Linked DNA regions of Homo sapiens: region 2 is linked to region 1. Evidence: promoter capture Hi-C in human tissues and cell types (Jung and others, 2019). All regions are on one chromosome and are shown on one strand. Each heading gives the region's core, a stretch centred on a gene start or on the middle of the fragment in contact. The rest is flanking DNA. Distances are from core to core; before and after follow the strand shown. Region 1 holds the start of ZNF717 (zinc finger protein 717). Region 2 has its middle 230 kb from the start of ZNF717.

Region 1 (6,196 bases), core at 2,027-4,526:
ATAACTTTGAACAGGCTGCTGCACACCCTGCATGTAGAGATAAACTAAGATAAAGGTGTGGAGAGTTATTTAAGGACCTGTGGTTAACTCAGTTCTCAAGATGTTCCAGGTTTCATCCATGAATCAAGGAGCACCTCCCAAAAGCTGTTTGGGACCACACTCTTTGAGCAAGGAGCATACCTTACAATGGAAGCTGTGCTTTGGCAGCAGATGCCCATTTCCACTGCACAACAGGCCGTGCTTTAGTGGAAGATGACTGTTTCCACTGCACAACACTACAAGTGTTTACTGCCAGGCTGGTGTGAAATATGTTCCACCACAGCAAGGAGCATACCTTATGATGGAAGCTGTGCTTTAGCGGCAGATGACCATTTCCACTGCACAACACACTGTGCTTTAGCGGCAGATGACCATTTCCACTACACAACACACTATGCTTTAGCAGCAGATGACCATTTCCACTGCACAACATGCCGTGCTTTAGCGGACGATGACCGTTTCCACTGCACAACACACCGTGCTTTAGCGGCAGATGACCATTTCCACTGCACAACACGCCGTGCTTTAGCGGATGACGACCGTTTCCACTGCACAACATGCCGTGCTTTAGCAGAAGATGACCGTTTCCACTGCACAACACTACAAGTATTTACTGCCAGGCTGGTGTGAAATATGTTCCAGCACATAACCTATGTCACCACCGAAGGTGGTGGTTCAGACTTGGTGCACACAAGCTTTCCTGTCCCACAAGAACACAGCATGCTCTCTTCGCGGGTTCCATTCCAATCACGTAACAACCATGACTGACTTTTTTGTCACTGCATCAGAAAGATCAGAGGAAAATTTGCACTCAACTTAGACAACTCTAAGCTCTTACAACCTGTCTATATCTACAGGTCAGCTTTATCTTATTTATGTATATTTCCTTCAACCTGAGTTTTACTTATTTCCACTTTTCTTTTTTAATTCACAGACACCCATAAACTCAGAAAATACAGTGTAAAACAAAGTGAAGAACAAATAAACAACTCACCAGAGATTTATTCTTTTCTTGTAGCTCTTGGAAACAGCCAGAGAACACTGGAAACATAGCTGAGAGAGAAGGCAAATGACGTGAATTAAGGAGAGAACTGGTGTGGTGTGGTCCCAGATTCTTCTGCCCAACACTCTAGACACATTACCTGGAAAAGCCCTCCTCCCTCCTGAAAAAGAAAAACTTCCCCATGGGAGAAGAGTCCTTCAAGCCTCATTAGGGGCAGCAAAGACTCAAGATAAGATACATCTACAAGTACATTAATTGGTAGACATTAGATGCACAATTTATTTTGAATAAAAATATGTATTACCTACTAATTTAGCAACAATATTACCTAAAGATACAATCTAATAATTTAATACAAAGAAACATTATAAGTTCACTAAAATAAATGTTATAGAAATATACTGGGCTGTATTAACTATTTTCCTATTAATATGTGGATTCCACAAATAACTTCATATGAGTGTTCCCATGACAGTACATCTTGCTTTTCTATACCTGAACATCATGGAAAGTGCATCTTGCAACCCAGCAATTTTGGCCTACAATTACTTTTTTTTAAATGTACATAATATGTATTTCCTGCAGTACACCATTCTACTCATGTTTCCCAATAACACCTTTCCCTGTATCCAAGCCCTCATATTATGCTCTGACAATAAATTGGGCTTTTCCATCTGACTTGTCCAGTGAATGGACAATGGAAAATGTGATGCAAATATCCATTGGTTCTTGCCTTTTTGGACACAGTCATATTGTGAGGAGGTCTGGAGCTACCCTGGTGGAGACACAGGGCCTAGCCAAGAGTCACCACAAACCGCCAGATTGTGAAGGAAACTATCTTAAACCAACCAGGCTCAGTCAACCCACCATGTGACCAAGGCCTCTTTTGTGATCCAGGCAACATAAATATATCAACTACCCAGCTGAACCCACCACACCAAAATGCAGATCCACAGAACTTCAAACAAATAAAATGGTGGTTGTTTTTTATAAGCCAGTAAGGTTTAATTAGTTCCTTAAACAGCAAGTATTAACTGTTACACCTAAGTGAACAGAATTCAATATGTTTTTAACAAAATTACGTAGGGGGAGAAAGTCTTAAATTACAAATCAAATACAATCGATAGAACTTCACAATCTAATGCTAAAGCTAAATTTGGTGATGGACTAGGTTTAATATATCTCAAACGCTGGAAACAACGAGGAAAGGTTGAAGGAATGGGACTGTGTTTGGAGAGTATTTTAATCTTCTCAGGTATGACAGGTCACTCCTGTACCCCAGACCACACTTTCAGGCCCCTTCAAATAAGGAATATTTCCTAGGTCCTTGCCTGTTCTTCTCAGCCGAATTCACCTCAACCTTCTGAAAGTTCGTCCAAACCTACCACTGTCACCTAGTCTTTGCAAATCTTGTGCATTCTAGGGAGTAGAATTAATATTTCCCGAGCGAGGAAAACTGGGATCTTCACCTGTGACCTTTTATCCTCCTCTGAAGCACCAGTGGGAGGTTAGACCAGAGGGCTGTTCTTTCAAGTGCGCTTCTTATTCATAGGGAACCCTCCCTTTCAAACCTTATAACACACGGTTAAGACTGAAGTACCCTTAAGGCTGAAGACCATCATCCAGTACCCCATCTCCCTCGCGGCATCAGTGAGTTCTTCCCTGGAAACTAGGTCTCGTATAAACTTCTGTAAACGCAACCCAGGAGGACTAGGCAGGTCACACAGTGAAGGAGGGAACCAGAAACTTCACTTGCTAAAGAGACACCGGGAAACCCAACTAATACAAACGCCCAGTTTAAGACTCGAGGCGCACGCGTTTCGCACTACTCCTCTGGGAATGGGGAACGTCTCCCGAGAACTGTGTGTTCGCACTGGGACAGATGGGCAAACTGAGCGTCATGCGGGTTGGTAACCGGCTCCCTCAGCGGCAGGACAGGAGCGCGGCCTGCAGACTCCGGGCCCAGGGCCACCGGCCTCGCCTACCCGCTCCTGCGCCTCTAGAACCCGCTTCACTGCCGGGACCCCACGCCTGTCCTCCCAGCCCCCGCCAGGGTCCGCGGCCTGCACCTGCACTTCAGGCCCTGCCCGCCCGCGATGCGCCCACGCGTCTGCTCCCACAACTGGGGAACACTGGTCCGGCCCCCCGGGATCCCCCGGGCCCACGGGTTCCTCTTCGCCCTCGCACCGACCCGCAGGGACATAGAACCAAGCCCCAGGCTGGCCCAGCTACAAGACCGCCTCTGGGTGCCGCACTTCCGGAGGAAAATGGCGGAGTGGGCGGGGCGGCGCATGCGCAGAGAGAAAAGCTGGTTCCCAAGGTCCTTGATGGTAACATCATTGGAAGGTGACACTACATTTCCCATGAGGCTCTGCGGTCCCCGGTTAGGAACCCAAGCCGGACATTCTGTTTTGCCCAGCAGTGAGTCCAGTTACCCAGAGACCCGGACTTAATGGATCAGGACTGGTCCCTACCCAGGTGACACAGATGTGGCATTCTGGTTCTTTATTAAATCCTGGTTTCACAGCCTGGCACATTGTGAAAATAATGGAGAAATTTCAATAGAGGCCAATTGGTCTATGCTATTAATGAGTAACTTTTTTTTTTTTTTTTTTTTTGAGACGGAGTCTCACTCTGTCACCCAGGCTGGAGAGCAATGGTGCGATCTCGGCTCACTGCAACCTCCGCTTCCCGGGTTCAAGCGATTCTCCTGCCTCAGCCTCCTGAGTAGCTGGGATTACAGGTGCGCGCCACCACACTCACCTAATTTTTGTATTTTTAGTAGAGACGGGGTTTCACCATGTTGGTCAGGCTGGTCTCGAACTCTTGACCTCGTGATCCGCCCTCCTCGGCCTCCCAAAGTGCTGGGATTACAGGCGTGAGCCACTGCGCCCAGCCCTCAAGTCTATTTTTTATAAATGCATTCGAAAGCATGAAAAAAATCATGTCTCTATTTTACTTTAAAATTTTAAAAACACAACTAATGAATATGGTAATTCTCTTCCAATCCGTTATCTTTTCTCTCACTAAACTAATTTATAAGCCTTCAATTTACACAGTTACAAAAAATGCTCTAGTGCATATACTGGGATAAAATAACAGGGTCATAAGACAGGTGCACTCCATAATCTTTGTGACAACTTACACTTCCAGTGTCTGATAAATATTTGCCCATAAACTCCCACGTTTCATCCATCCACCAATCAATCAAATCTAGCTATCTTTATTTATTTATTGTGAGAAAGACCTGAACTTTGCCTTTCCTTCCCTGATTTCTGCCACAAACTAGGCAAGGATTTCTGCCTAGGGGTTTCTCAGAGCTCCGGCCACCACCGAGGTTCCTAACAGGGAAACGCAAGCTTGAATGCTCAGGGTTGATGTGGGAGTGCGTGTGAAACGGGGTTGGGGTGAAAGGGCAGTGAAGTTTGTAGGTGGGCAGATGAGGGTGTGAAGGGCTTTCAGGTAAGAGGCACGCAGGAGACTGGGAGAGGCAGCGAAAGCACCTCACGCCTCAGATCACCAGAAGACGCTTCCACCAGTGCCGTGACAGTTTGCCAATGCCACGGCAGCACGGGAAGTCCCCACCCCTTGCCATGGAAACAGCTGGAAGTTACTGCCCATTTCTAGCTATTTCTGAATAACCCGCCCCTTAATTAGCATGCCATTAAAAGTGAATTATAAAAATGACTGCAAGCCACCCCCAGGCTGCTACTCTGGGAGCACAACCCACGGAGGGCTCCCTGCCCTGCAGGAGTGGACGCAGGGCTGTAACACCGCCAGTGCCTCCGTAGAGCTGCTTTCTTCCACCACAGGCTTGCTTTTGGATTCCTTCCTGAGCGACGCCAAGAACCTGCCCTTCCTCAGTGTGACTCTTGCCTAAAACCTATCCCTGGTTTTCTCTTTTCCTAAGCATGCCCTGACTTGTTCTTTCATCTCCTCGGATCTTGCAATTGCTCCTCAGTGACTCTATTCTGCAGATCCAGAAAACTCAACCTTAATCTTCCCAGAGCCCTGTTGTCTCCAATATCGGAATCTCTAGCCTTGCTTTCTCAGACGCCTAGATTACAGGCCTCTCTCTTGAACACCTATTGGTATGGTATCTGGGGATCCTTTAAATACACGATGATTGGCAGGGGTTACATAGCGGAAATCAGTGCCTGACAATTTGCCTTCCAGGATATGGACTGTCATTCCCTCTCTTGGTGGGCCTCAGTCTCTTATCCATAAAAGTAGAGATTGTAATACTCATTTGAATTGCAGATACCTCAACCTGAACCCACCTAATATAACGTAAAAGCCAAGACTGCAACCCCTTTCCTCACCACGTGAAGGTGAAGTCCTCAGAGCCAAGGAGAGAAGGCTCAGGGATGATACCTGGGTGTCTCCGACGCTAACCATGTATTGCAGTTTTTAGTGTTCAAGTTTAAGCTTCCCCAGCTTTAATTCTATTGTAACAAGATTTATTTTTGTAATTCCATTTTTGGATTCTTGATTTCTTGGTAAAGAAATACAGTTATTTTTGTATATCAATCTTATATAGTGTTACATTCTTAAATTTGTTCATGAGTCCTAATACTTTTTAGTAAATTTCTTACGATTTTCTAAATGCAAGATCATGTCATCTGTACATAAAGATAACTGTACTTCTTCCTTTCCAATCTAGATGCCGTTTATTTATTTACGTTGCCAAGTTGTCCCAGCTACCACTGTTATCAAGTAAAAGGGTCTCACTGCCCAAAGCACTAGAAGCCGGTACCACGACACTGAGTTTTCGAGAAAAGAAAAAGTTTAAAGTCAAACCAAAACCTATGGGGTACAGGCCGGGCGCAGTGGCTCATGCCTGTAATCCCAGCACTTTGGGAGGCTGAGGCGGGCGGATCGCGAGGTCAGGAGATCGAGACCATCCTGGCTAACAGAGTGAAACCCCGTCTCTACTAAAAATACAAAAAACAAAAATTAACCGTGCGTGATGGCGGGCGCCTTTGGTCCCAGCTACTCAGGAGGCTGAGGCGGGAGAATGGCGTGAACCCGGGAGGCGGAGCTTGCAGTGAGCCGAGATCGCGTCACTGCACTCCAGCCTGGGAAACAGAGCGATACTCCGTCTCAAAAAAAAAAAAAAAAAACCTATGGGATACAGTAAAAACACTACTACAG
Region 2 (6,196 bases), core at 1,749-4,248, 230 kb after region 1:
GGGGTTTCACCGTGTCAGCCAGGATGGTCTCGATCTCCTGACCTCGTGATCCTCGCACCTCCGCCTCCCAAAGTGCTGGGATTACAGGCGTAAGCCACCGCGCCTGGCTGAAGATCCGATTCTCTTACAGCTTGCTTCAGAGAAGAAGGATTGGAGAAAATCAGAGCCCTTCGTTCTCTGTGATTTTCTCAAATGCCAAGGTGCCATATTCTGGGGTAGCATGTTCTGAACCCAATGCTCTGGGGTAGCATGTTTTTATTTGTAGAATATCAAGAGAATAGTGTTGCGTCTTTCAGAAAACTCAGTCTAGAAAATCTTAGGAATGAAATATACAACCTAATTTTATACATTTTTCTAATTCCTATTTATGGTTAATATTTGAAGAAACATTCCCTCATGCATATATAGTTTTAGTTTAATGTAAGTGAATAAGATACATAATAATGCTGGTTGCAAAGATTTTGTGTTCCAGAAAAGTTCAATAATATTTTCCTTAAAGGTTGGCATGTAAGAAGAAAATTTATTTCCAACATTTTAATCTTTGACTCTGCATTAGCCATTTTCAATTAGATAAATTATTTTTTTCACTTGAGTTATTTGTTGAAAATTGGTAAACTTAATTGATGAAAAGCTTTAGCTTTTGCTATTTTTTTTTCTAATCAGTGATTCAGTGATTACTATTTCTTTTCTATTTTCTTTATATGTATTGTAATTTCTCAATGGCATTCAAGAAACCCTGGAAAGCACATTGAAAGTGGAATTATTTAAGTTGGACATCTGTAGATACTTGTGCATTAAAAAATTCTCCAAGTATGTCTTTAAAACTTAATAAAAATGTCAACTTCGAAACTTAATGTGCCTGGGGCTTAGTCCAGAGGACAGTGGTATCAGGTAAGCTCAAACAGGAAGATAATGGAAGGGGATTTGAACTTTATAATTATGATAAGGACTCCTGGCTAGTTTAAGAAAGACAATGACGGGACCAGAATATACGTTACTGCCTGCTGTGTATATGCAGCAATAGTGGTTATACCTGGTTCTTTGTCTGCAAATCAGAGCACAGGCTCAACATGAACAATCCTCGGTCCACTTATGAAGGAGGCTTATCCACTCAGCTGGAGGTATGATTTCCCTGCATATTGCTGCCAACTTCCTGTCACTGTCCCAGAGGTTTAGAGTTAGCATTCATGACCTTCAAACAGCCTAATTTCCCCAGAGTCATTGAACACAGCTAGTTGGCCCTACTAGGCTGAAAGCCATATGGCATCAATTGTAAATGTTTTGCTACTATTTCTAAATATAACCACCTGCCTGATTTACTGTTTGCTGGATGCTCACCTTGAATGTGAATATGTCCACATAATTTTTTTCTTTAAATTAAGAAATGTAGTTTAAAATTATGATTAATTTTATCCTATTAAGATGTTGAAGGGGGACGCTGAAGAAGCTTCACATTGTCAGTTTTGTATAAATCCACTTGTTGGAGAAAAGTGTTGAAATGAAATTAACAAAACCATCACATAAATATAAACGTGTAGATTGTTAAAATTACAGTTTTAGGAAATTTGCAACATAAAGTACAAGGTAAATAAATATCTCATTTAGAACTCACATATTTAGTACAAAATATTGCCCAAAATACATCCTAGGGCTTGGGGATATTTAGAAAAGAGAAGACCCCCAGAGCTATAATCCTCATTAAGTAACCAGATAGCTTAACTTCAAAATGCATTTTATTGTTTTTTAACCTTGGGTTTCAAGATATAACCTTGAAGAAAACTGCGGAAGCCTTTTCTGTTAGCTATAAAATAGACTCCATATCCCTCCCTTTCCTACCATGTATACTCCCTTCACATTTATCTAATTGTATGCTATCATCTGTGTGCCTTCTTAGAAGTTGCAGGGGCTAATCTTGAGTCTGACAAAGGAAGCTTGGAGACTCAGCTGCAAAATTCCCGCGATCACTTCAAGGTGGCTGGCTAGTTAACAACCCCGCCATTGTTGAGATGCTGCCAGCCCGTGATTCAGGTGGACTGAGACCCAAAATAGCCACCAGAGCAAGACACACAGACATTGTACTCAGCACAATTCTTGCATGCCTTCCTTATCAATGTTTCCACTTTTAAACCCCTGCCCTCACCCCCAAAATTGAAGTGGTTGGTTTAGATGGGAATCCGGCCACATCCCCTTTACTAGTTTTGGTTAGTAAAATCACTTTCTTTATACGAGACCTCGCTCTTGTGAATTGGACTCTGCAAGTGGTAAGCATTCAGATCTGTATTCAGTTACAAGGAAGTGATCTCTCTGCAATGGACACAGAAAAGATAAAAGGTTCAAGGGGAAATATAGGGGAAGAGGGAGGGGGAACTTAAATATTGGGGATAAATGAATTTGGGATAATTAAAACCAAATATAGAGAAAATTCTGAAGGGAAACTGATAATAGTGTATATGTAGACATTATGCTCCTCAATGGAAATTTTAAGGATACAATATTGTTTCCAGTCATCTGTCTTTCAGCAATATCACCCAGTGACTCGATGCAATCAAATGTGTATATGTAGACATTGTGCTCCTCAATGGAAATTTTAAGGATACAATATTGTTTCCAGTCATCCCCCTTTCAGCAGTATAGCCCAGTGACTCGATGCAATCACCTCACCAGTTCTCTTCTGAGGAAACAGTTTTAGACAGATTCAAAGCCCAGTTCAATGTAGCCAAGATTCTTTAATTTCTAATTTAGCTAATTAGTAGCAATACAAACTCTTGCCAAACAAGAAATGTGAATTCTTAAAGATTAAATTTTATTTTATCTCTATGTAGAGGTAGGAAACCAATCTTTTGGGAGGCACAAATTAGGATGACAGCCAACATTCATATATTCATTCTAAAATAAAGCCTTTATATGTAATGAATTATTTGTCATAATTCTAGAAAGTGGCATGTTCCAGCAATTATAATTATAAAGTATACTATTTTTGGAGAGTAAAATAGTAAGCCATATCATTAAGATCAAAATGATATTTAAAGGAAAACTGTAACTATGCCTTTAGTATATTAAAATTTGGTATTTTATACATCTGTCCCTACAAAATAAAACACTTTTTATATGTTTTCTTTGGCTCACGCACAACTAAATTTGATGAGATAAAATATACAAATATTTGACAGGTTCAATTTCCTTTTCAAGTTGGATTTTAATTAATTCAATAAGCATGTATTGATGACCTACTGTATGCAATATATTTGGCTAATTTTTAGCATATTTGATTTTGCTCTATCATCATGGATCGTGATGTTTGTGACTGGGGATATTTGTGACTGGAAGCTTTTTTTTTTCCCGTTAGCCAAATAAATAAGTAGGTAAATAAATGCTTAAAGACTTTTTTAAAAATCCGTGTGGTGTTATTTTTAGAGGTATATAATTTATCTAAGCTCCAGTTCCTTCCATTGGAAAAATGCATATTTAAATGAGGTAATATGTATAAAGGCAATTGGTGACTGGGCACGGTGGTGTATGCATGTAATCCCAGAAGTAATATGTATAAAGGCAATTGGCGACTGGGCACGGTGGCTTATGCATGTAATCCCAGAAGTAATATGTATAAAGGCAATTGGTGACTGGCACGGTGGCTTACGCGTGTAATCCCAGAAGTAATATGTATAAAGGCAATTGGCAACTGGGCACGGTGGCTTATGCATGTAATCCCAGAAGTAAAATATGCATAAAGGCAATTGGAGGCTGGGCACGGTGGCTTATGCGTGTAATCCCAGAAGCAATATGCATAAAGGCAATTGGAGGCTGGGCACGGTGGCTTATGCGTGTAATCCCAGAAGCAATATGTATAAAGGCAATTGGAGGCTGGGCACGGTGGCTTATGCGTGTAATCCCAGAAGTAATATGTATAAAGGCAATTGGTGACTGGTACGGTGGCTTATGTGTGTAATCCCAGAAGTAGTATGTATAAAGGCAATTGGAGGCTGGGCACGGTGGCTTATGCGTGTAATCCCAGAGGTAATATGTATAAAGGCAATTGGCGGCTGGCACGGTGGTGTATGCGTGTAATCCCAGAAGTGGTATATATAAAGGCAATTGACGACTGGGCACGGTGGCTTATGTGTGTAATCCCAGAAGTAATATGTATAAAGGCATTTGGAGGCTGGGCACTGTGGCTTATGCATGTAATCCCAGAAGTAATATGCATAAAGGCAGTTGGAGGCTGGGCACTGTGGTTTATGCGTGTAATCCCAGAAGTAATATGTATAAAGGCAATTGGCGACTGGGCACGGTGGTTTGTGCGTGTAATCCCAGAAGTAATATGTATAAAGGCATTTGGAGGCTGGGCACGGCGCCTGATGTGTATAATCCCAGAAGTAATATGTATAAAGGCAATTGGCGGCTGGGTACAGTGGCTTATGCATGTAATCCCAGAAGTAATATGTATAAAGGCAATTGGCAACTGGGCACGGTGGTCTATGCGTGTAATCCCAGAAGTAATATGTATAAAGGCATTTGGAGGCTGGGCACAGTGGCTTATGCGTGTAATCCCAGAAGTGATATGTATAAAGGCAATTGGCGGCTGGGTACAGTAGTTTATGCGTGTAATCCCAGAAGTAATATGTATAAAGGCAGTTGGTGACTGGGCACGGGGGTGTATGCGTGTAATCCCAGAAGTAATATGTATAAAGGCATTTGGAGGCTGGGCATGGTGGTTTATGCGTGTAATCCCAGAAGTAATATGTATAAAGGCAATTGGTGGCTGGGTACAGTGGCTTATGCGTGTAATCCCAGAAGTAATATGTATAAAGGCAATTGGCAGCTGGGTACAGTGGCTTATGCGTGTAATCCCAGAAGTAATATGTATAAAGGCAATTGGCGACTGGGCACGGTGGTCTATGCGTGTAATCCCAGAAGTAATATGTATAAAGGCATTTGACGGCTGGCACGGTGGCTTATGCGTGTAATCCCAGAAGTAATATGCATAAAGGCAATTGGGGGCTGGGCACGGTGGCTTATGCGTGTAATCCCAGAAGTAATATGTATAAAGGCAATTGGCGGCTGGCACGGTGGTTTATGCGTGTAATCCCAGAAGTAATCTGTATAAAGGCAATTGGCGGCTGGCCTGGTGGTTTATGCATGTAATCCCAGAAGTAATATGTATAAAGGCAATTGGCAGCTGGCCTGGTGGCTTATGCGTGTAATCCCAGAAGTAATATGTATAAAAGCAATTGGTGACTGGGCACGATGGCTTGTGCGTGTAATCCCAGAAGTAATATGTATAAAGGCAATTGGCGGCTGGCATGATAGCTTATGCATGTAATCCCAGAAGTAATATGTATAAAGGCTATTGGCGACTGGGCACGGTGGCTTATGCATGTAATCCCCGCACTTTGGGAGGCCCAGGTGGGATGATCACTTTAGCCCAGAAGTTCAAGATCAGCCTGGGCAACAGGGAAAGACCAGTTTCTACAAAATATTTTAAAAGTTGGCTGGGTGCAGTGGCACGTGCGTGTAGTCCCACCTACCTGGGAGGCTGTGGCAGAAGTATTGCTTAGGCCAGGGAGATTGAGGTTGCAGGGAGCTGTGATCGCGCTACTGCACTCCAGTCTGAACCACAGAGTGAGACCCTGTCTCTAAAAATAAATAAATAAAGACATACATACATACATAAAAAATAAAGGCAAAAAGTAGGCCCTCAATAACTTGAGCTAATATCAATCTGTATTTCCATAAATTGGTATCATTCTGTGTATTCATAGTCTCCAAACCTGTTATAGTCCAGTCTTCGGCTCCTTTTCCTGTGGCTTTAAAAGTTTATATTAGATAAGTATAAGAATCACACTATGTACTTACCCTTAACTGTTTTACAGTTATTTTCAGATTTACATTTTCTGTGGTTACCAAATTACAAATGGCTACATATAAAAACATACCTTTCTGGAAAGTTTAGTTTCTCAAAGTTCAGAGGAAGTCATATGCGCTTATATGTAAAAATTATATAAAATATGCATATGTTAACTTGTCATGTATACTTAAAAGATACCTAACAAAATTGAGAGTTCGCAATGATGTTACACAGATATTTGAAGCTGCAAATTGAAAAAAACAGATATCCAGAAATCAGGCTGAGTTTATTCCCTAGAGATATTTGCAATTCCTCCATAATAAAGTGACAGAATTTGTGACTTTTAAACTA

What was found. The method cuts DNA at HindIII sites, captures the fragments that hold promoters and counts their contacts. A contact is called where the count stands out against the background at its distance.
Region 2: a fragment that was not itself captured here is called in contact with the fragment with the promoter of ZNF717 in region 1 in 2 of the 25 tissues and cell types used here (H1 embryonic stem cells and spleen).

Annotation. Positions count from the first base shown.
Region 1 is chr3:75,782,273-75,788,468 of GRCh38, forward strand. It overlaps ZNF717 (zinc finger protein 717), which reads right to left and starts at 3,277. Exons shown (of 5, transcript NM_001290208.3): 1 at 3,112-3,277; 2 at 1,034-1,092. The coding sequence starts at 1,090. RefSeq lists an enhancer at 3,390-3,539. The HindIII fragment of the contact is 7,615 bases long and covers 1-4,935 here.
Region 2 is chr3:76,009,294-76,015,489 of GRCh38, forward strand. It overlaps a transcript of ROBO2 not described here. Among named protein-coding and RNA genes, the nearest start is that of ZNF717, 230 kb to the left of the region's middle. The HindIII fragment of the contact is 3,919 bases long and covers 1,040-4,958 here.